Linked DNA regions of Homo sapiens: all the other regions are linked to region 1. The links are contacts of gene promoters, found by promoter capture Hi-C in human tissues and cell types (Jung and others, 2019). All regions are on one chromosome and are shown on one strand. Each heading gives the region's core, a stretch centred on a gene start or on the middle of the fragment in contact. The rest is flanking DNA. Distances are from core to core; before and after follow the strand shown.

Region 1 (2,948 bases), core at 204-2,703:
ATGGCGAAACCTGTCTCTACTAAAAATGCAAAAATTAGCTGGCTTGGTGGCGCACACCTGTAATCCTAGCTACTCGAGAGGCTGAGGCAGTAGAATTGCTTGAACCCAGGAGGCGGAGGTTGCAGTGAGCTGAGGTTGCGCCACTGCACTCCAGCCTGGGCGACAGAGCAAGACTCCTTCTAAAAAAAAAAAGTGAAATAACAGTAATAACAGTTATGCTGTAATTCTATTTTTTTTGGGGGGGGGGAACAGTGTCTCTGTCACCCAGGCTGGAGTGCAGTGGCACAATCATGGCTCACTGCAACCTCCGCCTCTCCTGGGCTCAGGTGATCTCCCACCTCAGCCTTCCGAGTAGATGGGACCACAGGCATGCGCCAAAACGCCTCATTAAACTTTGTATTTTTTGTAGAGATGGGGTATCGCCTTGTTGCCCAGGCTGCTCTCCAACTACTGGGCCCAAGAGATTCGCCTGCCTCAGCCTTCCAAAGTGCTGAAATTACAGGCGTGAGCTACTGCATCAGGCCTATAATTCAAAAGTAGTCAAGCTGAGAGAATAGCAGGCTGTGGTTGAAAAGAGGGTTGTTCAAATTACTGAGTCGTGACGCGATAGCGTTTGGAGGGACAAGGTCCAGGTTTTAACTGGGATTGGGAGGCTGATATAAGGGTCGCTAAAGACGAGGCCCGATGTTGAATGGGTTGGCCACATAGGCTCTGAAATTATCAAAGATGGTCAGACGGGAGACAGACAAGGAGCTGGATACACAGATCGGCAGATTATCTCCAAACGGGGTGAAGTAGGTGACAGAGTCTAAGGGGAAGGGCTGAAGAAGCAAGTGTTTTTACAAGAGGTGACAGCACCTGGCACATAATCCCGACCTCTGCAAACTGAGACCTGAGAATACTAATTCATGTGAGAAAGTTTCAAGGGACGCAACATTCTCGGGACAGCCAGGTCTCTGTCCCAGGAAGGAGCGGAGAAGTTTAGAGACAAGCTGATCTAAACACGAGAACCTCTGAGGAAGACCGGCTTGAAGGCAGGAGATTGAGGAGGGGACCGAAGCGACGGCAAACCCTACACTCCTCTGCTCTTTAGTTACTTTCCTCCCAGCCAACCGCCCAAGCCACACCAACCTCCGCAATAGAAAACGCTCGGAGAACACGATCTCCCGCCCAGCTCTTTTCAACTCCCCGCGGAAGTGCTCACACCGGAACCCCTCTGTGTCCGCACTTTGCCATTGGCCGAGGCTTCCGCCCGCTTCCATTCGCTTCCTCCCACAACTCAGTCGGGCTGCGCGGTCCGTAGGAGTCACTTCCGCCTCGTCCCACCCCGCCCCCCGGTCCCTTTCTAGCAGCTTCCGGCTTCGGTCCCGCCCCGCCCCCTGTGGCCCCGCCCCGCCCCCGCCCCCGCCCCTGGCTGGCGGTCCAGCCCCGCGGCGCCGCTTCCGGTGCGGGCCCCGCCCCGGCTGTGGCCCCCGGCTGCGGAGGAGTCCGAGACGCAGCTGCCGCGCCGGGGCCTGAGCTGCCGCCTCCTCCGCCGCCCGAAAACCCGGAGTGCCCCGCACAGGTAAGTGGCCCGGGTCCGGGCTCCCTCAGGCATGGCGGGAGAGGAGGCTGCGACAGGTGGAGGGGCCGAGGCCAGGAGCCGAGGCAGGTGTAGAGAGAGAGGGGAATGCGCGAGTCGGGGGCGCGGGGACCGCGAAGGAAAGTGAGAGCGCCGCGGGAGCCCCGAGCGCCCTGTGCCCATTAGGGCATTTGAGATAAAGCGTTTGAGATAAAGCGATGAGAAGGGTGAGGGGCCCTGGAGCTGAGTGGGCGCGCAGATAGGTGGGGCGGGGGCCATCGGAAGAGCCAGCGGATTGGCTGGGAGGGTTGGTAGAGGTAAAAATGATAGGGCTGAATGGGGGGAGGTGAATAAAGAATGGGGGGAGGCGTGCAGGGGTGACCGGGAAGGTGGGCTGTGGGGCTTACAGGGGCCCGGGGCCAAAAGAATCCGGCAGCAAAAGCAGGGGAATGGTCAGCAGGCCGGGTTCAAAGCTGCAGGTAGTCCGTTGTACCCGGCTTGGTGGTCCGGGAACTTTAGGGGAAATGGGGGAGGGGCCCGTGTGAAGGGATGAAGAGGTTTAGATTTGAGACATAAGTTCTCCAAATGTAGGCAGGTGGCATTGTTTGGATCGCTGGCTGCTTAGGGACTGCGGGAAAATGGGCTCTTTGGGGGAGGGTGTGTGTATTGAGTTGTAGAACTGAGTCATCTCAGTCTTACTATAAGAGGCTGTGGGAGGGACACCTCCCCCTCTGCTGGGGACAGCATTCAGAGAAGATGGTGCCACAAGACAAGAAGCAGTTGTTCAGTGACTGGCAGGACTTGGTTGAGAAGTTATTCCGATCGTGATTGATTGACTGTAATGACTATGAGGACATTTAAAATGAACACCGAATTATTTGCTTTATTCTGTAATTTTCTTTGACCCAAATTGTTTTCATTTTAAATGAACACTTTTGCCAACTGAATTTAATGTGGATGTAAATCTTGTCATGCTTTTTTACACTGTAAGAAGAGCTAAAGCAGAATGAAAGTATTGCTGCAAGCGTAACTCACACTTTCTGAAGTGCCAAGAGAGGAAGTAAAGGCAGTAAGAGGCAAATTGGAATGCGAATCTTTCACAGAACACAAAAGGCACAAACAGGGCTATAAGATAAACAGAAAATGAGAATTTTTAATCTCTACTAATTGGCCTAGCTTTAAAAATTGTACCCTTTTTTACTCTAACCTGGAAAAAATCTTAAATCCAAGCAGTTTTTATTGCTGAAGATGTGATTACTTCTCCGTGAATTTTTGAAGATACTAAAGACACTTTGTTTTTTGTCTTTCGACCCAATCCTAAAACACTGGAACAATGCAGATATCAAGTCCCAACATGTGCAGTGCAGCTTCTTTCATGTGATGACAA
Region 2 (2,948 bases), core at 330-2,829, 190 kb before region 1:
TATTCTTAATTCATTGCAATGTGTTTGTTTGCATACAGTCAAGCAGGGTCCCTGGGGCCACTCAGGGAGAGAATGTCAGGCCTCTGAGCCCAAGCTAAGCCGTCATATCCCCTGTGACCTGCACGTATACATCCAGATGGCCTGAAATAACTGAAGAATCACAAAGAAGTGAAAATGGCCTGTTCCTGCCTTAACTGATAACATTACCTTGTGAAATTCCTTCTCCTGGCTCTTCTGGCTCAAAAGCTCCCCCACTGAGCACCTTGTGACCCCCACCCCTGCCAGCCAAAAAACAACCCCCTTTGACTGTAATTTTCCATTACCTACCCAAATCCTATAAAACAGCCCCACCCCTATCTCCTTTTGCTGACTCTTTTCGGATTCAGCCTGCCTGCACCCAGGTGATTAAAAAGCTTTATTGCTCACACAAAGCCTGTTTGGTGGTCTCTTCACAGGGACACGCATGAAATTTGGTGCCATGACTCGGATCAGGGGACCTCCCTTGGGAGATCAATCCCCTGTCCTCCTGCTCTTTGCTCAGTGAGAAAGATCCACCTATGACCTCAGGTCCTCAGACCAACCAGCCCAAGGAACATCCCACCAATTTTAAACCCGGTAAGCAGCCTCTTTTTACTCTCTTCTCCAACCTCTCTCACTATCTCTCAACCTCTTTCTCCTTTCAATCTTGGCGCCATCTTTCAATCTCTCCCTTCCCTTAATTTCAGTTCCTTTCCTTTTCTGGCAGAGACAGAGGAGACGTGTTTTATCCGTGAACCCAAAACTCCAGCGCTGGTCACAGACTCGGGAAGACAGTCTTCCCTTGGTGTTTAATCACTGCGGGGATGCCTGCTTGATTATTCACCCACATTTCAGAGGTGTTTGATCACCACGGGGACACCTGCCTTGATCCTTCACCCTTAGTGGCAAGCACCACTAATTTGGGGGGCAAGCACCTCCCTTCTCTCCGTGTCTCTACCCTCCCTTTTCTCTCCACTTTCCTGGGGGGCAGGCATCCCCCACACCTTCTCTCCATGTCTCTATCCTCTCTTTTCTCTGGGCTTACCTCCTTCACTATGGGCAAACTTCCACCCCTCCATTCCTCCCTCTTCTCCCTTAGCCTGTGTTCTCAAGAATTTAAAACCTCTTCAACTCACACGTGACCTAAAACCTAAACATCTTATTTTCTTCTGCAATGCCACTTAACCCCAATACAAACTCAACAATGGTTCCAAATAGCCAGAAAACGGCACTTTCGATTTCTCCATCCTACAAGATCTAGATAATTCTTGTCATAAAATGGGCAAATGGTCTGAGGTACCTGACACCCAGGCATTCTTTGTTCCCTCCCTAGTCTATTTCCAATGCAATTGGTCCCAAATCTTCTTTTCCCTCCCACCTGTCCCTTCAGTCCCAACCCCAAGTGTTGTTGAGTCTTTCCAATCTTCCTTTTCTACCGACCCATCTGACCTCTCCCCTCATCCCCAGACTGCTCCTCAGGTCACTCCCCAGCCAGGCTGAATCAGGCTCCAATTCTTCCTCAGTTTCTGCTCCTCCACCCTATAATCCTTCTATCACCCCCTCTCCCCAAACCCAGTCCAGCTTACAGTTTCGTTCTGCAACTAGCCCTCCCCCATCTGCCCAGTAATTTCCTCTTAAAAAGGTGGCTGGAGCTAAAGGCATAGTCAAGGTTAATGCTCCTTTTTCTTTATCCGAACTCTCCCAAATCAGTTAGTGTTTAGGCTCTTTTTCCTCAAATATAAAAACCCAGCCCAGTTCATGGCTCATTTGGCAGCAACCCTGAGACGCTTTACAGCCCTAGACCCTGAAGGGTCAGAAGGCTGTCTTATTCTCAATATGCATTTTATCACCCAGTCAGCCCCTGACATTAGAAAAAAGCTTCAAAAATTAGAATCCGGCCCTCAAACCTCGCAATGGGAATTAATCAACCTTGCCTTCAAGGTGTACAATAATAGAAAGGAGGCAGCCAGACAGCAACACATTTCTGAGTTACAATTACTTGCCTCTGCTGTGAGACAAAACCCAGCCGCATCTCCAGCATACAAGAACTTCAAAACGCCTGAACTGCAGCGGCCAGGCATTCCTCCAGGACCACCTGCCCCAGGATCTTGCTTCAAGTGCTGGAAATCTGGCCACTGGGCCAAGTATTGCCTGCAGCCTGGGATTCCTCCTAAGCCATGTCCCATCTGTGCAGGACCCCACTGGAAACTGGACTGTCCAACTCACCCAGCAGCCACTCCCAGAGCCCCTGGAACTCTGGCCCAAGGCTATCTGACTGACTCCTTCCCAGATCTTCTCCGCTTAGCGGCTGAAGACTGATGCTGCCCAATCGCCTCAGAAGCTTCCTGGATCATCACAGATGCTTTAGGTAACTCTTACAGTGGAGGGTAAGTCCGTCCCCTTCTTAATCAATATGGAGGCTACCAACTCCACATTACCTTCTTTTCAAGGGCCTATTTCCTTTGCCTCCACAACTATTGTGGGTATTGACAGCCAGGCTTCTAAACCTCTTAAAACTTCCCAACTCTGGTGCCAACTTGGACAATATTCTTTTATGCACTCCTTTTTAGTTATCCCCACCTGCCCAGTTCCCTTATTAGGTCAAGACATTTTAACTAAATTATCTGCTTCCCTGACTATTCCTGGGCTACAGCCACACCTTATTGCCACCCTTTTCCCCAGTTTAAAGCCTCCTTCACATCCTCCCCTTGTATCTCCCCACCTTAATCCACACATATGGGACATGTCTACTCCCTCCTTGGTGACTGATCATGCACCCCTTACCATCCCATTAAAACCTAATCACCCTTACCCTGTTCAATGCTAATATCCTATCCCACAGCATGCTTTAAAAAGATTAAAGCCTGTTATCACTTGCCTGTTACAGCATGGCCTTTTAAAGCCTATAATCTCTCCTTATAATTCCCCCA
Region 3 (2,948 bases), core at 214-2,713, 140 kb before region 1:
CCTCAAGACCTTGGGTGGAGGGCAGCCCAGGAGAGCCAGCCCCAGGCCATGCCATGGCTCCGTGGCTCATGTGGGCAGCCCCCCACTGGCCCTCACAGAGGCAGAGCTGAGTCAGCAGCCAGGGTCGGGGTGCCTCTGAGGCCCAGGCCTACTTCACTGGGAGGTGTCCCTGCACAGAAGTGAGAGGGCTCAGGAGGGGCCTGGCTCTCTGCCTCTGCTGCTTCAGGAAAAGTCCTGCTCCTTGGCTGAGCCCTCAGGGTCCTTCTCCAGCCCCCTGCCCACCGCCTGCCCTCCGGTCTCCTACACCCCCTCACACTCCAGTCAGTCATGTGGAAATGCTTGCAGTTCTCCACATGGGTTATTCCACTGCCTGCCTCCACGCCTCTGACCACGCAGCTCCTTCTTTTCCAGCTAACTCCCACTTGTCCGCAAAGACAATTCAAGAGTCCCTTGGAGCAGCCTGTTCGCACCTATGCACTCACACAGCACCTTGTTTGTTTAGACCCGCCCAGTGCCTCACAGCAACCCCATCTGGGTTCACTGTCAGAGCTCTGAGCCCACGGGGCTACTCGTCCCAAAGGCATACAGCATGTCCCAACATCTGACTTCGAAGCTGGGACAGGCCTGGCTCCGGGAGGGACAGAGGCTTCTACCTGGGGTAGCTGAGCTGTCCAAAGAAGTTTCAGCCATGTCGAGCCCCTGGCGTTGCCGAAATCCCCCACCCCACGGTGCCACAGCACCAGGGCAGCCCCTAGGAAAAGCCAGCCCCTCAGAGGCCCTGTGCTAAAGACCAGAAATTGCCCCTGGGTCTCCGCAGGAGTTCTGCAATGGGGAAGTGAGCCCTCCTGAGGCCTGGCTGGCAGGAGGCTCTTCAAGGCCAGCATCATGTGGACTTCCCCCAACCACTCGCGTTTCTGCACAGCAGCCACGGAGACCTGGGGGCTGCTGAAAAACGAGATCAGAAGGCAACGTCAGCCTGAGTGGGCTGAAACCTGAGATGAGGAAATGAGAAGACGTCAGGGGGCTGGAGGACATGGGTTTGAGGACAGCCAGCACCCAGCACTGCAGCTGAGGCCTCCTGAGGGAGCCAGAGGGAAAGCAAGTCCCCTCCCTGCGGCCTGAGTCTCTGCCAGTGCCCAGCACTCCCAAAGGATCCACCCCAACCTGAGAGACCCCAAAGACATTGGAGCAGCCCCAGACACCTCCTCCCAGGGCCACAAAGGCCCCTGACAAGCCCACAGCAGTCCAAGGCCTCCAACTGGAGTCATCTTTGGTAAATCTGGGGCCCATCAGCACCCACTGCCCTTCCTGGTGCCCTAAGCATGCTGGCAGGGGGACTGGAAACTGCATCCCAGTTTGCAGTGGGTGTATGTCTCATACACCCACAATACCTGATGTGGGCGTGACTCACCTTGGGGACCTGTGAGTCAATAAGGGTGTATGAGTAAGGGGCAGAGCATTTCAACTTAGTCCCATAGCACATGAGCTCACTAAGCAAACATTACCTATGTCTAGATTTGGGGCCAGTCACTACCCACTGGAGGCTGTGGGCTCCAAGGTATGGCAGCAGGGGAGGCCAGCCAGGCTCTGCCCAGCTTGCCCCTCCTTGTGAGGACGGACCCAGCCAGGCCTCCCGCATCCGCCCTTAGACTGGGGGACCCTGGGTGGGGGTAGAAAGGGGGACTGAAAGTGGTGTCTGGAGTTAAGCCCATCTCCTCATCCCCCACCATGGGGATCAAGATGGGGGCTAAGAGTCACCCCACCACCACCCCAACCCACTCTGAACGCAAAACAGAAGGGGACAAGCAAAACAGAACTGAAACTGGGCAAAGGAGAAACAGGTCTGGGCCCGCCCCAGGGACCTCTGTATCTCACCCCTTACCCATACACATCCTGACCAGGGCCTCTCCCCCAGCCTGGGAAAACCTTTCAAGCTTGGCCCTCTCTCACCTGGGCTCTCTCAGCCTCCTGCCCTCCCCCATCTTCCCTGCTCCCAGCCTCATGCTGCCCCAGGCCTCACCCCATCAGAGCTAAAAGGACCCCAGGCTGGGCATCTGTAGATCAGGGATCTGGTCTCCCTCTGCCACTACCTTTTGGGATGACCTTTGGGAAGTCATTCCCTTCTCTGAGCCACAGTTTCCTCATCTGGCCTGGGCTGTGGGCATAGAATCTGCAGGTGAGGGCTCTAATGGGTGAGTTTCAGGCCAGGCTGAGACTTTTCACATTATAACACTGAGGCACCCAGCACCTTGACTACCACTCATCCTGGGGACTTGGGAAGGGACAGAGGCTGGGATTGGACAGTAACAGCCAAGACCTTCCCAGGGCACAAACGCTGCCTCCCTGAAGCCTGCCCTGACTGTCCATGCAGGTCACTCCCATCACTTCACCTCCTCCTTCCCTCCACTCAGCACCAGCCACCACTGGGTCACATCTATGTCCCTTTGGCTCTGCAAGAGCAGCCTGGACCCCTGCATCCCCTACCCCAGCACAGGCCTGACACCAAGCAGGGGCTCAACAAAATATGTGTTGAAGGCCAGGCACAGTGACTCATGTCTGAAATCTCAGCACTTTGGGAGGCCAAGGCCAACAGATCTCTTGAGTTCAGGAGTTCGAGACCAGCCTCGGTAATGTGGTGAAACCTCATCTCCACAAAAGATACACAAAATTATCTGGGTGTGGTGGCATGCACCTGCAGTCCCAGCTGCGCGGGAGGCTGATGTGGGAGGATTGCTTGAGACCAGGAGACGGAGATTGCAGTGAGCCAAAATTGCACCACTGTATTCCAGCCTGGGTGACAGAGCAAGACCCTGTCTCAATGTCTCTCTCTCTCTCTCTCTCTGTGTGTGTGTGTGTGTGTGTGTGTGTGTGTGTTGAAAGAATAAAGGCAGAGAAAATAACAAGTGTTGGTGAGACTGTGGCAAGATTAGAGCCCTCACACTCTGATG

What was found. The method cuts DNA at HindIII sites, captures the fragments that hold promoters and counts their contacts. A contact is called where the count stands out against the background at its distance.
Region 2: a fragment that was not itself captured here is called in contact with the fragment with the promoter of ARID3B in region 1 in 1 of the 25 tissues and cell types used here (mesendoderm cells).
Region 3: a contact is called between a fragment that was not itself captured here and the fragment with the promoter of ARID3B in region 1, in 2 of the 25 tissues and cell types used here (dorsolateral prefrontal cortex and lymphoblastoid cells).

What each region holds. Positions count from the first base shown.
Region 1 is chr15:74,539,767-74,542,714 of GRCh38, forward strand. ARID3B (AT-rich interaction domain 3B) reads left to right here and starts at 1,454. Exons shown (of 9, transcript NM_006465.4): 1 at 1,454-1,564. It overlaps LOC124903528 (a long non-coding RNA gene), which reads right to left and starts at 1,322. Exons shown (of 2, transcript XR_007064719.1): 1 at 1,132-1,322. RefSeq lists enhancers at 710-839, 774-1,315, 890-1,039, 2,390-2,449 and silencers at 1,340-1,699, 2,216-2,400. The HindIII fragment of the contact is 13,134 bases long and covers 1-2,948 here.
Region 2 is chr15:74,354,071-74,357,018 of GRCh38, forward strand. All of the region lies in intron 1 of CYP11A1 (cytochrome P450 family 11 subfamily A member 1), which reads right to left. Among named protein-coding and RNA genes, the nearest start is that of CYP11A1, 12 kb to the right of the region's middle. The HindIII fragment of the contact is 4,859 bases long and covers 1-2,948 here.
Region 3 is chr15:74,395,711-74,398,658 of GRCh38, forward strand. No RefSeq gene overlaps it. Among named protein-coding and RNA genes, the nearest start is that of MIR6881, 14 kb to the right of the region's middle. RefSeq lists enhancers at 551-620, 641-710, 761-1,110, 792-1,991, 1,161-1,360 and 3 more. The HindIII fragment of the contact is 6,100 bases long and covers 1-2,948 here.